Linked DNA regions of Homo sapiens: region 2 is linked to region 1. The links are contacts of gene promoters, found by promoter capture Hi-C in blood cells and fetal thymus (Javierre and others, 2016). All regions are on one chromosome and are shown on one strand. Each heading gives the region's core, a stretch centred on a gene start or on the middle of the fragment in contact. The rest is flanking DNA. Distances are from core to core; before and after follow the strand shown.

Evidence for each region. The method cuts DNA at HindIII sites, captures the fragments that hold promoters and counts their contacts. A CHiCAGO score of 5 or more calls a contact.
Region 2: a contact is called between a fragment that was not itself captured here and the fragment with the promoter of SYNE1 in region 1, in 1 of 17 cell types (neutrophils). The highest score is 5.5, in neutrophils.

What each region holds. Positions count from the first base shown.
Region 1 is chr6:152,634,681-152,642,190 of GRCh38, forward strand. It overlaps SYNE1 (spectrin repeat containing nuclear envelope protein 1), which reads right to left and starts at 2,682. Exons shown (of 146, transcript NM_182961.4): 1 at 2,509-2,682; 2 at 1,958-2,125. RefSeq lists an enhancer at 180-309. The HindIII fragment of the contact is 16,108 bases long and covers 1-7,510 here.
Region 2 is chr6:153,011,150-153,018,659 of GRCh38, forward strand. It overlaps RGS17 (regulator of G protein signaling 17), which reads right to left. Exons shown (of 5, transcript NM_012419.5): 5 at 1-613. The coding sequence ends at 425. Among named protein-coding and RNA genes, the nearest start is that of MTRF1L, 12 kb to the left of the region's middle. RefSeq lists a silencer at 4,625-4,807. The HindIII fragment of the contact is 9,038 bases long and covers 1-7,510 here.

The sequences.
Region 1 (7,510 bases), core at 1,432-3,931:
AAGCAAAAGACAAAGTGTATAGCAGAAATCAGCATGAAAGATGTTCAGTGTCATAATTAAATTTTGTTTATTGTAAGCCTAAAGTATAAATTACAACCAAAGACATCTGCAACCTTCTTTTTTTCCCTTGCTACAGTATATTGCACACCTTGCCAAACATTAGTTCTCGTTAGATTAGACCACAAAGAAGTACACATTTAAGAGGAGACACACAGAGGACCTCGCAGAGGCGTTTGGGCCCTGCATGCCTGTCACATTCAGACCACAGGGTGTGGCTGCAGTAGCTAGAGCTGGAGTTGTGAAAATGCCACCAACCTTGCCCAGTTATGGGCTTCCTACATCCTGTGACAGTCACACCTCCTTTCATTTCCAAGATGCTGTGTGTGCAGCATAGTTATCAGAAAGTAGGCCCAGTGCAGCACCAAACAATTCTTGAACATTTTTAAATGGCAAACTAGCTTTTTCCAATCTCCTCTCCCTGGCAGGAAGGACTCAAGTAAAAAAGAGTTCTTAAATGAGGTCAATGAGGACAGAAGAAAACCAGTTTGTGAAAATCATTAGTTCAGAAAGATGAAAGTGAGACTATAAAATAAGAGCTAGGCAAATATTTCCAAAGCCTAGCAAATATTGTTATCTGGGTCAGTCTGAAGCTGTTTCTTAATCTTCAGCATGAAACATATTAAGTTAGTATAGATCTCTCACATTTTGTTCTAAATCTGCCACAAAGTAATGAACAGAAAAGAAAAAATAGATATGTATTTTGTCACACTGTTCCGGTGATATCAGGAACTTTTTAGCCATACTACAAATCTTTTTTCACCATGGGGAATAAAAAGCCTCTCAAAGAACAATCGTCATGACTCGTGATTAAATTCGCATTTTATGAAGATGTAGGTCATATTAATGACCTTTGCCTCATTGAAAATTATTATACTTTCTCTTGCATAGGTCTGGCTTCTGTATACGAATGTTGTCTTTAGGAAAGTCATTCTCAGATGAAGACAAAAAATGGATGGGCATTAAAGAAGAGAAAAATAATTCATTTTTAACTTTCTTAACATTCACAGGAACATTTCAGATACAAGTTTTCCACCCCAAAACGAAAAGCTCAGAAATGAACATTGTGGGATGCTAAGGCTTCATTGCTGATATTTCCCTCTGGGCTGGACCTGACTCTATTTACGGAAGGGGGCAGAACTTCCAGCATCCAAAGTCTGGGATCCCAGTCAGCACACCCAGCCTGCCTTCCCAAGGGGCTTCTTCCTGTGCGGCTGATGGCTGCTTCGTTTTGCACGGATGCCTGCCCGTTGGGATGCACCTGGCCGCCTGTGCACCACCATTTCCCAGAACTCCTCCGCCAGCAATGCAAGATCTCTCTATGTGAAACGTATCTTTATAAAGAGGAGACGAAAGTTCTCTTGCCCTCTAGTGCAGGCTCTGCCGGGAAGCAACTGCACCATGACAGCGCCGCTGGAGTCTGACGCGCCAGGGCCTCCGCGCAGCCTTCAAGCCATTTCCCTCCCCCAGCCCTTCCTAAAATAGTCAGGGGGTGGAGGAAGGGAGGCTCCTAGAATCTGTTCAACGCCCTACCTCTCCCATCTGATAGTAGCAACAGTACCGACCATCACAATAAGAGGCTGGCTGCCTTTTGCTTCTGCACCATTGGAGCCCAGGAGATGTGCCACAAGCGGAAATGACAACTCAGAGAGGGGGATATTAATAGGGACATCTACGTACGAGATGCAAAGAGGCTCCCCAACCTCCTAGTCTCCTTATCTATGAGTATCGCACACGTACACACATCACTGCCACCACCCCCTCCCATCAAGCACGCAGAGCCCCAGCGTGCAGGCACAAACTTGCTGACAATTTGTCTGCAATGTGTTCGTCTTGCACCTCTCTCTCCTCTCCCTGTCTCTGTCTCTCCCTGTCTCCCAGTCTCTGTCTTTCCTTTTACCTTCTCTCTCGGCCTCGTTCAGTTTCCCAGCAGCAAGGCGAAGCGAGCGAACGCTTCCTCCCGGCTCTCTGCGCCCAGGCTCGGCGGGACCCCGGGGATGCGCGGCTGTCCGCCCGCCCTGTCGCCGGGATCGGGCGCGGTCTGCAGGACTGCGGGAGCCCAGCCGCCCTGGTGACAGAGGACAACAATCTCAGCCCGCTGCGGCCGGCGGCCGCGGCCCGGCGCCCGCGCTCACCCTGGCTGGCTCGCCCACACTCACTCCCGCGCCGGGCTGCTCAGCCGCGCTCCCCGCCCTCCGCGACCGGTTCCTCCTCCCGGCTGCTCGCTGGGGGGTGAGGCCTCCCCCTTCGCCCTCCCCCACGCATCTACTGCTCCTGTCGGGAAGGAAGGTCGCCCAGGCCGGTTCAGCCTCTGGGCAGGGTCCCTGCACCGCCCTGGCCCGCCACACCCCCTCCCCGGCTCCGTGCCCCGCGCCCCGCGCCCGGCTCCGGGATGCGCCGGTGCCTGGAAGAGCTGGGGGCGGGGACCCGGAGGCTCGCAGGCTTCCCTACCTCCTGGAGATGCACGGCCTTGGGCGTTTCTCCGCAGCTGCAAAGCTGTGCTGTGACCCACCCGCTCAGCGAGCCTTTATACCGGGACCACCTCCCGGGGGTCGAGGTGGGAAGGAAATGTCCCTGAGAGCCGGGACGCGCTGCCTCCGCTGCCTGGAGGAGCTGCGCTGTCCTGCCAGCTAACTTTTGCCCACGGTTTCCACTGCCCGGGTGACCTTTCTGAGCGGAACCTATCCTGAAAGGCTGGGAGGTTCCCTGATGGTCCCAGGAAGGGCGTGATGCAGAGCAAAGAGCAAAACCCGCTGGCTCCTTTTTCATCAACTTCCGAAAGATCCTAAATCGTTTTGGCTGCCAAGTCAGTAGCAAATAACTTAATTTGAGGGAGACTGGTCAGGCTTTATAGATCTTTTTTAATGTTATGTATAAAGTTTAGACTTCTTGAGAAAGCGCTTGACATCTTTAATTCTTGACTGTTTATTATGATGATTCTAAAAACCACTTTTAGGTTCTTCAGGTGCACTGTATGCACCCTGTACATTGCGGAGCCATTTGTATCTTTGGCCACAAGTCCTTCTCGTGGTGTAAGAGATCTTGGTGTTGCCTGGTAGCATTCAGGAGAATTTATTTTGTTGTGGTTTTATGGTATCCAGGCAAAGTCAAACACAGTCTCTCTTCACCAACAGTGAAGTCCAAGTCCAACAGGATGATTGCAGCTAAAATAATCGAAGCCATGTTGCAATAATCTTAAAAGTAATAATCCCCCCCTTGAATCTCCAATCTGAACAAAACAGTCATTTATCCTCTAAATTTGCTGAAAGGAAGGAGCAGTTTATAAAGTAGATGAAGTTTCTCTTTGCTGCCTGCCTTTCCCTTACCTGCTGCCAACATTCCCACTGCCTAGCTTTCCATTTTCTTCAAATTCTCCTTCTTCTGGATCGTGTCAAAATAATAACATCTGAAACAAATCTGGTAAACCAATCTGATGTGTTCCTCTTCTTTGTGCTGACTTTTGTTTTTTTTTAGAGAGAGAAACCAAACAATGGATCTCTATTTGCAGAACTTGCTACCTCCAAAAGTTGGGCCTGGAGGAGGAGTGTTTGGGATCACTCTCAATGTATGCCCTGCCTCTGCCTGAGGGCAACAATCCTGGGGCACCCCCAGAGCCCCTTGTGGAGACAACCACCAGAGCATAATTATTCCAGGTCAGCCCTCTGTGCCCAGTGGCCACAAAATGGGGTCCAGATTTCCAGGCTTGCCACTCAGAAGAAACAGATCAGAATGGCTCAGCTCACCCTCTCAATCCCTACCTTCATAGAATCAATCCACCCTGCCGGCTTTTGAAGATGGGTAGAAAGTTATTGTGCCAACTTTGCCATTCTTTTTGTTTGTTTGTTTGTTTGAGATGGAGTTTCGCTCTTGTTCCCCAGGCTGGGGTGCAATGGTGCAATCTCGGCTCACTGCAACCTCCGCCTCCCAGGTTCAAGCAATTATCCTGCCTCAGCCTCCTGAGTAGCTGAGATTACAGGGATGCGTCACCACACCTGGCTAATTTTGTATTTTTAGTAGAGACAGGGTTCCTTCATGTTGGTCAGGCTGGTCTCAAACTTCCGACCTCAGGTGACCCATCCAGCTCGGCCTCCCAAAGTGCTGGGATTACAGGTGTGAGCCACTGCACCTGGCCACCAACTTGCTATTCTACACGTTAAGCAACTACTTTCTTGGGTTTACTTACTTGAGAAGTGAGCCACTTAAAACACAAGCCTGAAACATTGCTTCCACCAACTAAAACTCCTCTACTAGGCCTAATCTCTGTTCTCACAGGCTGAGACAGACAGAAGCATAGAGCTGTCTTGCTGGCATTGATTCCCTATACAGCTGAAATCCCATTCTCAGCTAAACTTTATCCTCTGTAGAAGGACTAAGCACATTTTAGAGTTTTGCAAAGGGCTTGTCAGTTTCACACACCCCAGGGAAGGGTGTTGTAGCTCCATTTACTCAACAGCTATTGCTTGAACACTTACCACATAACAAATATTGTCCTAAGTGCTGGGGCTACCGTGGTAAGCAAACTCTGACCGGGCTCTTGCCTTCATGGAGCTTACAGTATGATGGGGGAAGAGCCAGACATTCATCAGAGAACCACACAAATACTTATAAAACCCCATTCTCCAAGCAAAGGCAAATGTTGCTATGAGAGCTTTCAAGAACGGGAGTTGGCCAGGCATGGTGGCTCACACCTGTAATCCCAGCATTTTGGGAGGCCAAGGCAGACAGATCACTTGAGGACAGGAGTTCGAGACCAGCCTGGCCAACATGGTGAAACCCCATCTCTACTAAAAATACAAAAATTGGCCAGGCACGGTGGCTCATGCATGTAATCCCAGCACTTTGGAAGGCCGAGGCAGGCAGATCACAAGGTCAAGAGATCAAGACCAGCTTCACCAACATGGTGAAACCCCATCTCTACTAAAAATATAAAAAATTAGTTGGGCATGGTGGCGCATGCCTGTAGGCCCAGCTACTCAGGAGGCTGAGGCAGGAGAAACACTTGAAGCTGGGAGGCGGAGGTTGCAGTGAGCCAAGATTGCACCACTGCACTCCAGCCTGGCGACAGAGTGAGACTCTGTCAAAAAAAAAAAAAAATAGCCAGCGTGGTTGTAGGCGCCTATAATCTGAGCTACTCGGGAGGCTGAGGCAGGATAATTGCTTGAACCTGGAAAGCGAAGGTTGCAGTGAGCTGAGATCGTGCCACTGCACTCCAGCCTGGGTGACAGAGCAAGACTCAGAAAAAAAAAAAAGGAGGGGAATTAATTTATTTCAGGGATTAGAAAGGCTTTGCTAAGGGAGTGACATCTGAACAGTGAGGTGCAGGAACTAGGTGAACGTGAGCAGGTGGGAAATTGGGAGAGCGCTCCAGACAGAAGGAACAGCATATGCAGAGGCTCTATGGAAGAAAAGCACATGGTGCATTGCAGGAACTGAGGAAGACTGATGAGGTTGCAGAAGAAAAAGCAAGGGAGGGGCCAGGAGGTTTAGGGAATGGTGGGCCCAGTACAGCTGGAAACAGAGCCAAGGGCAGACTATGCCAGTCTTAAAAACTGAACCAAAGGGATGGCCCTTTACAAGAAGCCATTAAAGTGTTCTCAGTGCAACATGATTAGATTTATGTTTTAAAATGTTCTCTTTGGCTAAAATGTGAAAAAACAGATTAGAAGTGGAGCCAGAATCAATAAACATGGACCAGTTAGGAAGGTGGTGCTGTAATCCTTTAGAAAAGACTGTGGTATTTATTATTAGAGTGATGGTGGTGGGAAAATGTAGACAGATTTGAGAGATATTTAATAGATAAAACTTACAGGGCATAAGGCCATGTTGTGCTATAGACTGAATAGGTATGTTCCCCCACCCCCAAACTCATATGTTGAAACCTATCCCCAGTGTCATGGTATTAGGAGGTGTGGCCTTTGGGGGTGATTAGGTCATAAGGGTAGAACCCTCATGCATAGAATTAGTGTGCTAATAAAAGGAACTTGGAGAAGTCCTTGCCCCTTCCACCATGTGAGAACACATCAAGAAGACAGCCATCTATCAACCAGGAAGTGGGTTCTCACCAGACACTGAATTTGAAGGTGCCTTGATCCTGGACTTCCAGCCTCCAGAACTGTGAGTAGTAAGTGTCTGTTGTTTGTGAGCCACCTGTACTATAGTATTATGTTACAGCAGCCCGAACAGACTAAGACATGTGTCAACAGGAAGTTAGAAAAGTATAATGGTTAAAGTATTGGGTTTTAAAGCAAGAAAGGCCTGGGTTTGAGTCCCAGCTTTACCATTAAGTGCCTATGTGATTTTTAGCTAGGAATTTAACCTCTTGTGAATTCAGGTTTACAACCCTGCAATTCAGGATTCTAATAGTATCTCATTCATAGAGCTGTTGTGGGGACTACATGAGCTAATGCCTGAATAGCACTCAGCACTTCAGTGCCTGGCATGTGGTCAATAAATGAAAGATATTATTAGCATCATTATTATGCTTCTAGTTATTATTACTATTAGTCTAGATGTTTCTGAAGTTGGCAAACCATCACTCTCCATTTCACATTGCAATAGCCTAATAGAGCTAGGACACCAGTTCCTGAGAGCAACAAAATACAATCCCAGGGCCATCACAGGCTGAGAGACAGCTGCCAGGACAGCAACCTGACTTCCTCCTCCACCAGGCCCAGGGCCTGTCCTCCTCATCCGTCTTTTCATTCTGTCTCACTTTACAAAGAATCTTCTTCTTATATATCACTGTAGTTGGGCCCCCAAGGTCCCCTGTCTGCATTAGCAAGAGGTACCAAAGATAGCAACAGTTGCAGATTGCCTTCAGCCCAGCTTCATCCCAATGCCTGCATCATGGTGTTCTATACATTTGTAAAATATGAGACATTGTGCCCATATGAAATCAGAGAAAAATCATTTCTTTCCTTTTTTTTTTTTTTTTTTTGGAAACGGAGTTTTGCTCTTGTTGCCCAAACTGGAGTGCAATGGCGCAATCTTGGCTCACCGCAACCTCTGCCTCCTGGGTTCAAGTGATTCTCCTGCCTCAGCCTCCTGAGTAGCTGGGATTACAGGCATGCGCCACCACACCTGGCTAACTTTTTGTATCTTTTAGTAGAAACAGGGTTTCACCATGTTAGCCAGGCTGGTCTCGAACTCCTGACCTCAGGTGATCTGCCCGCCTTGGCCTCCCAAAGTGCTGGGATTACAGGAGTGAGCCATTGCGCCCAACCCGAATAATCATTTCTACTTCTGTCATTCCTACTTTAAGTATCTGTGTTGATACCATGACAAAACTTGCCGTAATTAAAATATGTTGTGGATTTATCAAAAGCAGCGGCCCCAGGATCTACCAGAAGTGCATCTTTATTCAAATGAACACGTGTGCAACTCAACAAATGGCTCTCTTCTTCCACCTCCCTCCCTTAGTCTTAAATCTCTTCAAAACCAACTTGTACACACA
Region 2 (7,510 bases), core at 2,789-5,288, 380 kb after region 1:
TTTTTTTGGCAATTATTTCTTAAGACCATATTGCACAAAAGTCCTTAAATACAGATATAAGTTATGCTACTGGATTAAATATTACAACAACTATGTGGCAAATGAAGCATTTTACTTTGCACATGCAGTCTCTGGAGATACACGAGGAGACTGTTCATAGGACTACAAATACACTTTGCTTGCAAGTAGAATGAGTCTTGAATAAAACAAACAATTTGGCAATTCATTGTTTTGTGTGGTATTTTCTCCAAACTTAACCATGGAAAACCTTGATAAAAATGGAGACAAAGACCATAACGGTTGTGTTTTCACAGTAGCCTGAGGAATGCTAAACTGTAGTTCTCCAGGAACTCAGTTTCTGATGTTATTTAACTACTTTTATTTCCCATCTCAGCCCTCCAAAATGATTGTTTTTAAATGAACATTAAGATTCAGAAGAAGAGCCAGCAGTACTTTCAACAAATGACTTATAAATTTGAGAGTTCAAAAACCTTGGAAAAGAATCTCTGTGCATTAAAGTATATATCTGAAGTTGGGCATCTTCATACATGTGAGGATTGGGATCCAACAGATTTCTATTGATCACCTCTCTAACTCGAGAATCAAGACTGACCTAAAAAGAAACAAGAGCAAATACATTAAATAATATTTTTTTCAAAAGACCTCAATTAAGTAACTGTAGGTTTGTGACATTTTAGAGAAACTTTAAAGAGCAAATCCAACTACCAAAAGTCTTGGGTTCATCTTTTGAGACTACACAACCTTATGTACTTTTCTCCTTCAAAATTTGCACTAAATAAAAAAATCCAATTAAGTCTTTTAAACCAGAAATTTAGTTTACAGATGTCTTTGCTTACTTGGTTTTATGGTTTCTATGCATTCATTCAGGAGTTTTTGACAATTTCTAATCATGGTTGAGATACCAGAAATTTCCTAGCCAGAATGTGAATTCACCTCCTGCTATTCTGTGACTGGGGGAGGTTGGCAATATTGATAAGAAGATAAAAATCTACTGGCAGAAAAGAGTTCCCTGGCAAAAATTAACATGCATATAAAATGCCAACTCCCCACAGTTTTGTATCCTAACAAGTCCTACTGTGTCAAAAGTAGGAAACCAAGAGTGTGGCAGGGCATGCAATGAGCAGGTATGCTTCAGGTCTCACATCTACCTGGCAAGGACTAGCAAACATCCTTATATATCCAAAGACCTCTTACTAACGATGAAGCAGATCAGTTGCTTGGAGTGAGATCTTTGAGAGGAGAAATAGGAATAGGAATGCAGAATGACCATTAAGATAATCAATACAGTGTTATTTGAAAAGTGTACAAAAATTAAATTCTGCAATGATTTAGGATCTTCCCCCTTCCTCACTAAATGCAAATCCTCTTGGAACTGGTAAAACATGTTGGAAAGGGAAATGGGGAAAAATACTTGGCAATAAGGGCATGGTTGGAGGAACAGAACTAAAGCCCTGCGCTGAAACACCATGTTAGAACAACCCTACAAGTGGTAAACAACCACTCAAAGTCCAGATTGTTTTCCTCGATCCTCACTGTTTAGCAAGGAATAGGACCTGTGAACCATAGTTATTTCATGACATATTCACATAAAACCTTCCATATTTATATTTAAACATGTTGTCATAAGCATTCTGCAAATGCCTTTTAGTTCTGGCTTCTTTTCCCACCACTGTTCAGACTAAGTCTGGGAACTAATACAGTCTCTTATTGAAGCCTCTCCTATTCCATCCAGTGTCCCCAGGTTCCTGACCTCAACAGACCACGTGGATTTGGGTTGATTGCTACACCCCAGGGATGGCTACTAGATTTGTTGGGAGATGGCAATCCAGACTACATTTCTGTGGCTTAGCCAGACCAACTCATACAGGGACACCTCATTTTACTGCACTTCCCTTTATTTAGTTTTTCGCAGATACTGCGTTTGTTACAAATTGAAGGCTTGTGGCGATCCTGTGTCAAGGAAGTCGACTGGCACCATTTTTCCAATAGCGTGTGCTCACTCTGTGTCTCTGTGTCACATTTTGGTAGTTCCCATAATATTTCACAATTTTCATCATTATTATATATTTTAAGGTGATCTGTGATCAGTGACCTTCGATGTTACTCTTGCAATTGTTTTAGGAGGCCATGAACCATGCCCATATAAGACTTAATTAATTCTTAATTGATGACTATAGTGTGTATACTGACTGTTCCACTGACCTGCTATTCCCATATCTTTGTCCCTCTCCTCAGGCCTCCCTATTTCCCACAGAGAAAACAATATTGAAATTAGGCCAGTTAATAACCCGCCAGTGGCCTCTAAGTGTTTAAGTGAAAGGAAGATTCACACATCTGTCACATTAAATAAAAAGCTAAGAAATGGTTAGTTAAACTTAATGAGGAAGGCATGTCGAAAGCTGAGACTGGTCAAAAGCTGGGCCTCTTTTGAAAGTTAGCCAAGTTGTGTAGGCAAAGGAAATGTTCTCAAAGGAAATTAAAAGTGTTACTCCAGTGAACATGTGAATAAGAAAGCAAAACAACCTGTTGCTGAAATGTAAAAAGTCTGAGTGGTCTGGATAGAAGATCAAACAAGCCACAACATTCCCTTAAGCCAAACCCTAATCCAGAGCAAGGTCCTAACTCTCTTCAATTCTGTGGAGACTGAGAGAGGTAAGGAAGCTGTGTAAGAAAAGTTTGAAGCTCACAGATGTTGGTTCATGAGGTGTAGGGAAAGAAGTTATCTCCATAACATAAAAGTTCAAGGTGAAGCAGCAAATGGCTGATGTAGAAACTGCAGTAATTTATTCAGAAGATCTAGCTAAGATAATTGATGGAGGTGGCTACACTAAACAGCAGGTTTTCAGTATAGACAAAACAGCCTTATATTGGAAGAAGATGCTATCTAGGACTTTCAGAGCCAGAGAGAAGTCAATGCCTGATTTCAAAGATTCAAGGACAGGCTGACTCTGCTGTTAAGGGCTAATACTAACTGGTAACTTTAAACAGATACGAATGCTTATTTACCATTCTGTAAATCCTAGAGCCCTTAAGAATTATGCTAAATCTACTCTGCCTGTGAACTATAAATGGAACAACAAAGCCTAGATGACAGCACATCTGTTTATAGCATGTCTTACTGGGTGTTTTAAGCCCACTGTCGAGCCCTACTGCTCAAAGAAAAAAAAGATTCCTTTTAAAGTTCTACTGCTCATTGACAATGCTCCTGGTCATCCGAGAGCTTTGATGAAGATGCACGAGGAAATTAGTATTGTTTTCATGCCTGCTAACACAGCATCCATTCTGCAGCCCATGGATCAAGAAGTAATTTCAACTCACAAGTATTATTTAAGAAATACATTTCAGAGGCCAGGCGCGGTGGCTCACGCCTGTAATCCCAGCACTTTGGGAGGCTGAAGTGGGTGGATCACGAGGTTAGGAGATCGAGACCATCCTGGCTAACACGGTGAAAACCCGTCTCTACTAAAAATACGAAAAATTAGCCAGGTGTGGTGGTGGGTGCCTGTAGTCCCAGCTACTTGGGAGGCTGAGGCAGGAGAATGGCGTGAACCTGGGAGGCAGAGCTTGCAGTGAGTCTTGATCGCGTTGCTGCACTCCAGACTGGGCTACAGAGTGAGACTCCGTCTCAAAAAAAAAAAAAAAAGAAACCCATTTCATAAAGCTATCGCCGCCATAGTGATTCCTCTGATAGATCTAGGCAAAGCAAATGAAAAACCTTCTGGAAAGAATTCACCATTCTAGTCATTAAGAACATTTGTGATTCATCGAAGGAGGTCAAAATATCAACATTAACAGGAATTTAGAAAAAGTTGATTCCAACCCTCCTGGATGATTTTGAGGAGTTCAAGACTTCAGTGGAGGAACTAACTGCAGATGTGGTGGAAATGGTAATAGAACTAGAATTAGAAGTGGAGCCTGAGGATAGGACTGATTGCTCCGATTTCATAATAAAACTCTAAAGAATAGGGGCTTGCTTCTTATAGATGAGCAAAGAAAGTGGTTTCTTGAGATGGAATCTATTCCTGGTGAAGATGCTGTGAACATTGTTGAAATGACAACAAAGGATTTAGATTACATAAACTTAGTTGATAAAGCAGCAGCAGGGTTTGAGAGGATTGACTCCTATTTTGAAAGAAGCTCTACTGTGGGTAAAATGCTACCAAACAGCATTACATGCTATAGAGAAATCTTTTATGAAAGGAAGTCAATCGATGTGGCAAACTTCATTGTTTTCTTATTTGAATAAATTGCCACAGCCACCCCAACCTTCAGCAATACCAGCCTGATGAGTCAGCAGCCATCAATGTCGAAGCAAGACCCTCTCTCCACCAGCAAAAAGATTATGACTTTCTAAAAGCTCAGATGACTGTTAGCGGTTTTTATCAATAAGGTATTTTAAAATTAAGGTATCCACATTTTTAAGACATAATGCTGTTGCTATGCTATTGCCAAGTATTGTTTATACTATGACTACAGTATAGTATATCTTTTTTTTGTTTTTTTTTTTTAGTCTCGCTCTGTCGCCCAGGCTGGAGTGCAGTGGCGCGATCTCGGCTCACTGCAAGCTCCGCCTCCCGGGTTCACGCCATTGTCCTGCCTCAGCCTCCTGAGTAGCGGGGACTACAGGCGCCCGCCACCACGCCCGGCTAATTTTTTGTATTTTTAGTAGAGACGGGGTTTCTCCGTGTTAGCCAGGATGTTCTCAATCTCCTGACCTCGTGATCTGCCTGCCTCGGCCTCCCAAAGTGCTGGGATTACAGGTGTGAGCCACCGCGCCCAGCCAAGCATATCTTTTATGTGCATTGGGAAGCCAAAATATTTGTGCGACTTGTTTTGTGGTATTTGCTTTATTGTGGTTGTCTGTAACTGAACCTGCAGTATTGCTGAAGCAAGCCTAAAAAACATTACTTGGCTGAACTACACATTTGTCTTTATTGGGAATTCTTTAAAAATAAAAATGTTCTGGAAATGAATTGTTCAGTTTTTATTTTCTGTTATTACCACATGAGGTCACTATCAAGTACAAAGTAATTTTAAAAAGCACAGAATATTTTTCCCCAACGTTTTTATTTTACCTGAAAATGTATTTTTGCATTTATATGCCAGAGGGAAATGCTGACACTGGAGTTTAAACTGAGATAAACTGATTTATCTTATTCTGGAACATCATGTTATGGTAAGGTAAATTCTTACCAAACACACTCCTCTGTTTTCTTTCAAACTTGAGAAAACTTTTTGTTTCAATAGAGCAGGAAACCTTACATTAGAGATTAAAAAAGGGGGGGTCATTTACTTCTTAAAAAGTAGTATCATTAAATATAGTGTAAAAGTTTCTTCTCAGTAGAAGGAATCATTATTATCTTAAGACAAATAAAATAAACTATTAAATGGCTTATGTCCTCATTGTTTAATTTTTAATTTTTTTGCAAGCTAAAAACAGTAGTGAAATATTGTAAAGTCATACAGTTCAATATTTAGTAATCTATAACAAAAATGCATTTGTTATTTCTATTTAAAGAATAAAATATTTACCTTAATATCAGGTTGTTTGTCTGAAAAGGCTGTCGATCAGTCAAAAGAAGTGTAGCGAGGTCAAATAATAAGGATAAACCCCATGGGGATAACAATCTATTGTTTCATCTTGTGCCATCTTTGTGCTTCAGAATGTGGATCATCTATAATACAAGGTATTGGTGGTGGATCCCAGTTGGGCCTGGGCCACAGTCACCCTAGGATTCAGGTGTGTCTGGATGGCTTCTAAAGCCATCTTATCTGGGCTCCATTGCATGAGGGACTGAGGAATTTCCTGTAAAGAACTCATCCTAAGGGAAGAGAAAGTTGAGTAGCACAAGATAAGAGCTATCCTCGGGCAATGCATGTCTCCTCTTATCTCAGGCCACAAAGACCCATACCAAGGTGGTGTGGAGAAAAGAGTGCATTCCAGCAATAACAGAATTTATAGCACAAAAGCACTACCCTTGTGAGACAGGGCACAAGACAGCATGATAGGTTTGACCGCATTTAACTGGCAGTTTTAGCAGTGCTGAAAAGTCCGGCAATGTTGAGACATAGCAACTGAAGTTTTAAAAAGACACAAGTGACTTTGCAATAGGTCTCGGTGAACTTGGAAGCATTCATTCCCACAGGGAGCAGGAGACAGGGAGGCAGAAAAGCAAGGGACTTGCAAGCAAAAAGTCATGAGAGCGAAGTGGTCAACAAAAGTATGGAGGTAAAGCGAGGAGAATGAAGACAGAGAAATCTTGTTAGTGTGGCTTGGGAAAATCTGGGCTAAACGGAGTCATATACCCTGGTTAATCTTACTAGATTTCCTATTCATTGAAGGAGGACATGAAGGTGGGTTAGCATTGCTGAAAGGGGGTACACCAACTTTTCACCCTGCCTTTTTATTCCAGTCATCAAGATGCAAGGGAAAATTTGATCCTATGGACATTTTTGGCATAATTATACGAGAATATTGAATTTTTACTGAAAGTCTTTTTCTCTGTAGAGAACCTTTCTTTATGTTATTTAATTCCCTGAACAATGTTTTTCACGTATCACATCCAAGTGTTTTCTCCATTTTTCTCTCTTATTTTTACTGTTACTGAAGTTGCTTTATTTAGAATTCCTTTCCAAGTAAAATTCTGATTAATTTTTTCCCTTTATAAGTCCATATCAAATTTTACCAATGGTAACATCTGCCACTGGAAATTTTCTTTTCTGCTTTTAATTTGAACTAAATTTGGTATTCCTATGTTAAATTTTATAAATCTAAAGAATACATGATCCTCCTATCAATTTTCATTTTTACTTTGTGTACATTTAGTCACATTTTATTTTGTGCTTGTTATTTCTCCTGAAAATAATGGCACATTGCAAATAAGACCAGTTGTTTGAATTTCTCTCTTAGAACAAAGATTATTGGTAGGGTAAACTGTAATGTAATACTCTTGGTGGTGTCTGGATGATAGGAAAGTATATCCTGCTGGTCTAGGGGAGGGTTCAGGCCTGTGGTTAAGGTTGCTATTTCTCATCATGTGTGAAGTTCTACGGTTGGGTTTATAGAAATCTAAGGTAACATCAGGAAGAAAATATTAGGCAATGGAAGAATTAATCAGCATGGTATATTTGGAAAAGCACCACATTTGGAATCAGAAGATCTTGGGCTTGAATTCTATCTCTACCAGATATATTTATAATTTCCTCAAACATTCATTTCACCTCTTTGAGTATCAGTTTCTTTTGCTGTAAAGTGGTACCATCGGTCCTCGTGGCTGAAAGATTGTTGTGAGACTCAGACTGTAATAATATAGGCAAGATCACTGTGCCAATAATGAAGCCAATGTAAAGTAATTAATAATAATTGATCATAATTATGACATCATCTTGATCAAACCCAATGTGTTTGGCTTTTGCATCAATTTGAATTTTACCTTCTCAGAATGACCTTACCTGACTACTTCTATTCCATCTAATTCAATCTCCAGCC